2 separate regions of the Homo sapiens genome follow, and region 1 is linked to region 2. The links are contacts of gene promoters, found by promoter capture Hi-C in blood cells and fetal thymus (Javierre and others, 2016). All regions are on one chromosome and are shown on one strand. Each heading gives the region's core, a stretch centred on a gene start or on the middle of the fragment in contact. The rest is flanking DNA. Distances are from core to core; before and after follow the strand shown.

Region 1 (4,621 bases), core at 1,579-4,078, 980 kb after region 2:
TAGGCAACAGAGCGAGACTCCGTCTCAAAAAAAAAAAAAAAAAGAATTCCATGGCGACCACAGGTAACTCTGTGCACAGACCAAGGTAAGAAACGTTGCTATTGGGGCGGCAAAGCCTTCCTTGGTGGTTGGGGTCTCTGGAGTTTTAAAGTGTGTGAGTGAGACATACCACTGGGCGCAAGGCGAGTGCGGAGTCCGGACTTGGTTCCGTGGTCACCTCATACGGCTTAGGGCGGTTTTCCAATCAGGGGATTCCACCTACCCGCCAATGCTAAGAGGTGCCTAAAATTCCCGCAAGGGAAGCAGCCAATAAGGACGAAGTGAGTGCTCACGAGAGTGCAAGAAACCTCCAGTGGAAAAAGGGGAGGTTGAGCCTCTAAGACACGGGAGTGCAAGAGATCTCTAATATTATATATTAAGCCTCACCAACCTCCAGGATGGGAAATAACCCCAAGTAAGACAGAGACTCTAAAAGGCCAAGCAGACAATAAAATTTCCCTCACAGTCCCCTAGGCCTAATGTTAAAATACTGGAAGGATAATGAAAGGACCAAACACAAGAAAAGACAGCAAATGATAAAGTACTGCTGTTTTATTTGGACTAAGGAACCCATCCTCAGACCTTCGGTCTTTTGGCCAAAGTTTGGGTGGGACGAGGACTGGATATGCCAACTCCTGATCCAGTATGTCAATGATAAAAGCCCAGTTTCTCAAGAGGAGATAGATTATGCTCTATGTTGGAGACAAGGACCTGTCCTTCTCTATCCCTTAAAGGACGAAAAAGCAAAGCCAAACTCAAAACCCCCCAAAGACGACCTAGCTAAGTCATATTCTATATCCAAAGATGCACGGGATCCTCTAGACCACCTTCCCCTGCCTACCTCTCCGCCCCGACTGAACAACAGCCCTTCCCGCACCTACCCCTCTGCCCCAAGCTAAAACTCCGTCCCTCCCCCATATAACCCTGCCCCATGGGCCTTGACACCACACACCCCCGTTGGACAGCCACTCGAACATGCCCCTCCCTTAGGAAAGCTCCAGTGGCAAATAGAACAATGCCAAAGGGATATTCAAAACTTTCCTTTCCTCTCTTCAAAGAAGTCTGCCCCAACCTTTTTTCCCTTGAGGGAAGTACCACTAGGAGGAGGGGATATTGGCTTCGTAAATGCCCCCCTTAGCTAGTGAAGAAGTTAGAAATCTAAAAAGGAGACTCAAACCACTGTTAGATGACCCTTTTGGAGTCTCAGATCAAATTGACCAATTTATGGGGCCACAACTGTATACCTGGGCTGAATTGATGTCTATTCTAGGTATTCTCTTCTTAGGAGAGGAAAGAACCATGATCTGCAAGGCTGCTATGATAGCCTGGGAGCGCAAGCACCCCCCTCGTCAGAATGTCCTTGCAGCAGAGCATAAATTCCCGGCCCAGGACCCTCAATGGGATAACAACAGTGCGGCTCACCGGGAAAACATGAGAGATAGGGATATGATAATTAAAGGGATTCAGGAATCAGTTCCTCCAACCCAAAACATTTCCCAAGCATTTAATGTACAGCAAGAGAAAGATGAAGGGCCCATGGAATTCTTAAACAGACTTAAGGAACAGATAAGAAAATACGCAGGTTTGGACATAGAGGACCCACTAGGACAAAGGATGTTAAAGCTCCACTTTGTCACCAATAGTTGGCCAGACACTATAAAGAAATTATAAAAGATAGAAAATTAGAAAGACTGTCCCATAGAGGAACTTTAAAGAGAGGTCCAAAAGGTATATGTACGGAGGGATGAGGAAAGGCAGAAGCAAAAGGCAAAAATTATGCTGTCCACCCTACAACAGGGAACTTTTCAACAGGCATCCCAGGGAAATAGAACTTGTAAACCTTCTGAGTACCAGGCTGCCAGACCCTATACAGGAAGCAAAGGGACGAAACCTGAGAATCAGGGAACCAGGAGGGGGAGAAGGAAAAACAGATGTTTCAGATGTGGAAAGCCAGGACATTTTAAGAGGAAATGTCCCGAATGGGAGAGGGAAAAGAAAGTCCTTTCACTCATGACATTTGAAGAACAGTGGGCTCAGGGGCTCTACGTCTTCCATCTTGAGTCCCACCAAGAGCCCTTGATAAATTTAACGGTGGGACCCAAATTGGAAATAGTCACTTTCCTGGTCAATTCGGGAGCAGCTGGCTCCTGCCTATGTTTTCTCCCATCAGATTTATCCTGTTCAGCCGAAGACCTTACTGTCTCAGGAGTTAAAGGGGAAGGATTCAGAGCAAAAATTCTAGAGGAAACCGAAGTCAAATATAAGAATAAGTCGGTTGCTACTAAGTTCTTCTTAATTCCTGAAGCAGGAACTAATTTATTAGGAAGGGACTTAATGTTAAGGTTAGGCACAGGCCTATATGTTAATCAAGGAAAACTCCTTACTTCCTTAAACGTACTCACCACTTCAGAAGAAAGCCGCATCCATCCCAACGTATGGTCGAAAGAAGGGAATCGAGGATGGGTTCCTCCAATCCATGTCAAATTAAAAACTCCTGGGGAAATAGTGAAACAAAAACAATACCCTATTCCCTTGGAAGCCAGGATAGGTTTATAACCTATAATTGAAAGCCTTGTCCACGAAAACAATACCCTATTCCCTTGGAAGCCAGGATAGGTTTAAAACCAGGATAGTTTTAAAACCTGTAATTGAAAGACTTGAACCCTGTATGTCCCCTTATAACACTCCAATATTGCCTGTAAGGAAGTCAGACGGGTCATACCAGCTAGTGCAAGACCTCTGGGCTATTTACCAAATAGTTCAGACCATCCACCCTGTTGTTCCCAATCCTTACACCATTTTCAGTAGAATCCCGCATAACCACCAATGGTTCACGGTGACAGATTTAAATGATGCCTTTTGGGCTTGCCCTTTAGCAGAGGACAGCTGGGACAAATTTGCCTTTGAGTGAGAGGACCCTCACTCCGGTCGATGGACAGTCTTGCCCCAAGGTTTACAGAGTCCCCAAATCTATTTGGTCATATTTTAGAGCAAGTCCTAGAAAACTTCTCCCTGCCTTCATCCATATGCCTACTCAAATACGTAGATGTCCTGCTCATTTCAGGAGATAACAAGGATCAAGTAACAGCAATTTCAGTTAACTTCCTAAATTTCCTAAGGGGACAAGGATTACGGGTCTCAAAGAACAACATCCAATTCATAGAATCTGAGGTAAAATATCTAGGACACCTAATCAGTAAAGGTGAACGAAAGATAGGATCCGAACGAATTGAAGGTATCCTGTCTTTGCCTTTACCTGAAACAAAGCAGGAACTTAGGAAATTATTAGGATTGGTTGGATATTGTCATCTGTGGACTGACTCTTATGCCTTAAAAACAAAGCCCCTATATCAAAAACTCACTCAAGAAGGACCAGACCCCCTCCTTTGGACCCCATCAGAGATCCAACGGTAAAAGAATTAAAACACCTACTTGTAACTGCCCCTGTTCTAACTTTGCCCTCCTTAGAACAGCCATTCCATCTTTTCATTAATGTAAGCAAAGGAGTGGCCTTAGGGGTACTCACCCAAAAACATGGAGGCCACCGGCAGCCTGTAGTCTTTCTGTCAAAAATCCTTGACCCAGTAACCCGTGGATGGCCCGAATGTGTTCAATCCATAGCAGCAACTGCCTTGCTAACAGAAGAAAGCAGGAAAATAACCTTTGGGGGAAACCTCTTCGTAAGTGCCCCTCATCAAGTCAGAACCATTCTTAATCAGAAGGCAGGGAGATGGCTCACTGACTCAAGGATTTTAAAATATGAAGCTATCTTATTAGAGGGAGATAACCTAACACTAACCACTGACAATTCACTCAACCCCGCTGCTTTCCTAACAGGAAATCCAAACCAGGAGGAATGTGAGCATAACTGCTTAGATCTAATCAGTTTTCAAACTAGAGTCAGACCGCATCCAGGCATGAAACCCCCTTCCAAACAGGGCATCACCTCTTTATAGACGGCTCCTCCCAGGTCATTGAAGGAAAAAGGCACAACGGGTACTCCATAGTTGATAGGGAAACCCTCACAGTGGTAGAGTCAGAAAGACTGCCAAATAAGTGGTCTGCCCAAATATGTGAACTCTTTGCATTAAACCAAGCCTTAAAATCCCTGCAGAATCAGGAAGGAACTATTTACACTTACTCCAAGTATGCCTTCGGAAAAGATCTGGACTGAACGAGGCCTCATCAATAGTAAGGGCCAAGATTTGGCCCACAAGGAATTAATTATGCAAGTGCTAGAAAATCTTCAGCTGCCGGAAGAGATTGCAGTTGTCCATGTCCCAGGACACCAAAATAACCCATCTTTTGAAAGCCGGGAAATAACCTCACAGATTAAGTAGCTAAGCAAGCTAGCAAGCTGCCTATTCCCAAGAGGCACCCATTTTCCATCTAACCCCTTGTCTTCCCCCTCCAGCTGTGATCTCCATCTTCTCCCACACAGACCAAGAGAAACTCAAGAAAATAGGAGCTAAGGAAAGCCCAGAGGGGAAGTGGGTGTGGACAGATGGAAGGGAAATGCTGTCTAAACCCCTCATGAGGGAAATATTGTCACAGCTTCACCAAGGAACTCACTGGGGTCCTC
Region 2 (4,982 bases), core at 2,375-4,874:
AGGAAAGGGAATAATTGAAGTGTCAGTTAACAAAGCAATAGTGTTGTTGTGAACAGAATATATAGGAATGTCACTTGAAAGGTTGCTTCCTAGATGTGGTTGGATATGTTGAGGGTGTGATATACGTAAACAATGAAGCCAATATCCAGCAATCTTAGACAGAAGCTACTTAGATAAGGATGGTCATACTGAGAGTCTGGTATAGAAGATGAACAAGCAGATATCCAGCAACCATCCAGAAATCCAACTTTGATACTTAGGCAAGAGGACAGGCCTGAAGGGAGAGACTTTAGTTACCTGTAAGAAACTAACTCACAAACCCATGAAGGCAAATAGGACAGTACCTCAGAGAATTCCTGCAGTTGGAAGGCTACAAGTCAGTTCTTCCTTTGTTGGTGCTCCAGGAAATCAAATATAAGTATAAAATATAAATATAAAATGGGTCAAAGCCATTTTAAGATTAGAAATACATGGGCTCCATAAAAAGTGAATACACACTCAAAGTAAATGTGATTCATATTTAGCTCATGTCTCATCTCAAACATTTGATTTTAATTTTTATTAACATTTATTAATTTGTTCATGTCCTAGTTTAATTTGCTACATGAAGTCATTTGTATTTTGATGAGATCAAAAAGTGTGAAACCCTCACCTTTTGGGCTTTACTCTGTCTGTTCCCAGCATTTATCTCCTTCATAGTCTTAGTAAAACAGAAATGTATATGCTCCCCAGATCAGCATACGTTCAAGACATTGAGGAGTGAAGAAAATCAGTTAATTCACTTTCTGCCATCACTCCATTTTCTTCTCATATCGAACATAAGCTGTACTTCATCACTATAAGCCTATATCCTTGTTTAAACAAGAAATGTAGTACTGAATATGAAACATGGCTGTTTTTTAAATTTCTCTCTCTAGGGAATTTTGTGTGTGTGTGGTGCTTGTGTGTATATTCTTTGATCCTGGTACTTGAATAGTTTACCAAAGTCTATTTTCCCCGTGTCACCAAGCATGACAGACCCCTGAACCCAAAGACTCATGAATATTTTAATAACAAATTTCCCCCAGTAAAAATTTAAAAAAAAAATTTTTTTTTGACCCTTAAATGAGTCAAACTCTGTCTCTTTTATGTCCTTTCGTGGATCTCTCCTGAGTTCAGCTATGCAAACAGTCCCAATATCAGGAGAATCAGTGATCATTGTATTTCCCATTTTCCCAAGGAAACGTTGAACATTTACTGGAACCCTCCCAAAGTAACTAAACGTCCAAATAGTTACAAGAAGCTATCATGAAATATTTTCAGCCCCAGCTAATTTTATCAGAAAGGGCTGTTGTTCTAAGTATCCGTACTGCTGTTCTTGTGGAGAAATTCAAAAAGAACCTGTTGTTTCTCTTCTCATATAAAACAGATTTCCTCGTTAAATCTCAATGAAAATCAAGTAGTTGTTCAATGTATGAGAAGCCAAAAATGTGTAGGCTATTATTAGAAGACAGCAAACAATTGAAGACACGAATGGAAGAATTTATATTTTAAATGAAAATCAAGAAGTTGTCCCTCTGAACTGTGAATCTCTGAAAGTTGGAACTTTTGATAAAGGCCGAGGCTGCCTTAAGTAAAAACTAGAGAAAGAAAATGTAAAGATCATAACACCGTAGCCGTTCCAGTTCATTGTAGAATAGAATTGGTGTGATTCCTCCTCAGGAAATTTAAACTATTTTGATTTTCTGAATTTCCGCAAACACAACTCAGAAACAGGGTTGAGACTAGGTTGCTGCCAAGCTGAAAGACTGAGCTGGGAACCAATCAGCGCGCAGCGTGTCTGTGTGTGACACACACGTAATCACAGACACACTCGCAGCCTGACTTTTTTTTTTTTTAACTGTTAGATATCCAAACCTACAATCATGTCCGAAACTGTACATGCCGTGACTCCTGGTCTATCTCCCAAGTCAAAGACTGAAGTAAAGAAAAAGGTTGCAAGTCCGAAGTTGCAGTGAAGTGCAAGATGTCCAGGCCCCTCCGGTATGTGAGTTCATCACTAATGACTTAGCCGTCTCCAAGAAGCGCAGCGGCCTTCTCTGTGGCCGCGCTCAAGTAGGTGTTGGCGGCTACGATATGAAGATCGGCCCTTGCCGGTCGCGGTGGCCTACGTTTGTAATCTCAGCATTTTGTGAGGCCAAGGCGGGAGAATCTCTTAAGCTAAGGAGTTGTTTTTGGTGGTTTTGTTTGTCCTTGGGGATTTTTTTTTTTTTTTTGAAGGAGTCTAGCTCTGCTGCCCAGGCTGGAGTGCAGTGGTGTGATCTCGGTTCACTGCAACTTCCGCCTCCCGGGTTCAAGCCCTTCTCCTGCCTCAGCTTTCCATGTAGCTGGGACTGCAGGCGTGTGCCACCACACCCGGCTAATTTTTGTATTCTCAGTAGAGACGAAGTTTCAATGTGTTGGGCAGGCTGGTCTCGAACTCTTGGCATCACGTGATCCGCCCGCCTTGGCATCCTAAAGTGCTGTGATTACAGGCCTGAGCCACCTCGCCTGGCCAAGCTAAGGAGTTTTGAGGCCAGCCTGGGTAACACAGTGAGACCTCGTCCCTAAAAATAAATACAAATTTTTAAAAATTATTTGAATAAAGTTGGGCCTTGAAAACAAACGAGGGCATCTTCGTGCTAAGGAGTGCAGCGCCTCAGGTTCATTCCCGCCAAACCAGGCAGTGTTAGGAAAATCAAGACCGAGGCCAGAAAAGCCGCTGCAGTCATGCCCAAGACAGCTGTCCTGGCAGCCGAGAGGCCCAAGAAAGCTTGGGGCGTCCTTATTCCGAAAAAGAGTACTAAGCGGACCCCAAAAGCTTTTGCTGGTGGAGGCTGCTGGAGAAGGTTGGTTGGTCAAAGGTGGCCAAGAAAGTTCCCAAGCCGGAGGCATCCAAGCCTAAGAAAGCGGCCCCCAAAACAAGGAGATATAAGAGTACCTTAAAGGCTGTTTTAAGAACTCCCCAATTATAATAAAGCTTTTTGCACCAATTCCGTGAGGGGAGGGGGAACGGATAGAGGCAAGAATGCTTACTTACCTTGAGTGAACAGAGGTTCCAGTTTACGGACAGCAACAGTAAACAGCAACTTTTATAGAAAAGGTGGTTGGCTCTGAAAAGAGCCTTTGGGTTTTGGTTAGCACACATTCACAAGACAATTTACGCCCTCTCCCCACGAATGCGGCGAGCAAGCTGGATGTCCTTGGGCATGATAGTCACTCGCTTGGCGTGAATGGCGCATAGGTTGGTGTCCTCAAACAGCCCCACCAGGTAGGCCTCGCAGGCCTCCTGCAGCGCCATCACCGCCGAGCTCTGAAAACGCAGATCAGTCTTGAAGTCCTGCGCGATCTCACGGACTAGACGCTGGAATGGCAGTTTGCGAATCAGCAGCTCGGTCGACTTCTGGTAGCGGCGGATCTCGCGCAGAGCCACCGTGCCGGGCCGGTAACGGTGGGGCTTCTTCACGCCGCCGGTGGCTGGAGCGCTCTTTCGAGCAGCCTTGGTGGCCAGCTGCTTGCGTGGCGCTTTCCCACCCGTGGACTTGCGAGCAGTCTGCTTGGTACGAGCCATTGCGAACTTCTAAACCCTGCTAAATGACGAAAAAACGAAAGTCTAGCCTTTCGTACCCGTATATATAAAGACACCCCTGTTCTGATTGGACAAGGCAGCCTTTCCCCTGCAGCTCGATTGGTGGAGACGCCCACTCCCTGACAGAACATCTCCTGCATGTAGACCAAATATTAAAACTTTCCTCCGTCCATCTTTAACTGCTGGTGTTTTCAACCCTTTCCCCTCTGTGCCATGTTTCTAGCTTTTATTTAAAACGTACTTTGGTTTTCCTTGGCAAAATTGTGTCTAGCTACTAGGATGACGTGTCTTAATTTTTTTTTAAATGTTGGCGCTGAAACTGGCTTTGATCAACGTTTTAAAAAGACGCGCGCTAGTTGTGATTGGCCAAGTGATTTCTTTTTACCCTCTTAAGTTTAGAAAGGTTAATTTCATATCTTGATTTGTCTATTTAAACTTGGAGATATTTTCAATAATTTGTTCCAAATGCACCATGACTATTAACTCATAAGTAACAATATGAAACCTGATGTTAAGCTACATGAACACATTTAATTTCACCACAATATGTCATCCTCATATGAAAGCACTCTTATCTTTTACAAGTTCAACTGGTATTTGTGTAATCTGCTGTAAAAAAAAAAAAAAAAAAAAGCCAAATTTATAAATGGCACAAAAAGACCAGTGTGCCCTTTTAGTCATGCTGAACACTGTGCTAAGAAGCTCCACCTAAGGGCCGTCTGGCTCCAGGGGATGTAGGTTTGTATTCCTATTGATAATTAATTAGGGTTAGCTCAGTAGAGTTGAAAGTGGCTTGCAAAAACAAACCCAAAAAATACTTACAAATTACAGGTTATTTCGTATCATTAAGATGCATACAAAAGACAATAAAACATTTGTTCTGGTTCTGTTGCTTTAAGTCACTAACTATATTTTTATGTAAATGTAAACACTGACAAACATTAACTTCTCTCCTGTATGTCTCAGGCCTTTTAACAGCTTTGCAATCCTAACGAGCCGCTGCATTGATCGATTTAAATTACATGTGACATAAAGTCTCTTTGCATTTTAATTAGTTTGCTTTTTTGGGTTTTTGTTTGTTTTGAGACAGTCTCGCTCTGTCGCCGAAACTGGAGTGCAGTGGCGCGATCTCGACTCACTGCAACCTCCGCCTCCGGGGTTCAACATTTTCTCCTGCCTCAACCTCTTAAATAGCTGAAATTACAGGCGCGCGCCACCACGCCCGACAAATTTTTTTATTTTTAGTAAAGACGGGGCTTCACACCATGTTGGTCAGGCTGTCCTGGAACTCCTGACCCTGTGATCCGCCCACCTTGGCCTTCCAAAGTCCTGGGATTACAGGCGTAAGGAACCGCGCCCCGCCAATTTGCTTATG

Evidence for each region. Contacts are between HindIII fragments. The CHiCAGO score rates a contact against its expected background, and 5 or more counts as called.
Region 1: a fragment that was not itself captured here is called in contact with the fragment with the promoter of H3C4 in region 2 in 2 of 17 cell types (naive B cells and total CD8 T cells); the score reaches 7.0 in naive B cells.

The regions. Positions count from the first base shown.
Region 1 is chr6:27,178,827-27,183,447 of GRCh38, forward strand. No RefSeq gene overlaps it. Among named protein-coding and RNA genes, the nearest start is that of TRI-AAT5-2, 3.8 kb to the left of the region's middle. The HindIII fragment of the contact is 7,682 bases long and covers 1-4,621 here.
Region 2 is chr6:26,193,662-26,198,643 of GRCh38, forward strand. It overlaps H3C4 (H3 clustered histone 4), which reads right to left and starts at 3,625. Exons shown (of 1, transcript NM_001376937.1): 1 at 3,123-3,625. The coding sequence starts at 3,589. The coding sequence ends at 3,179. It also overlaps the pseudogene H1-12P. RefSeq lists enhancers at 2,752-3,353, 2,866-2,975, 3,354-3,954, 4,697-4,756, 4,787-4,846 and 2 more. The HindIII fragment of the contact is 2,796 bases long and covers 2,997-4,982 here.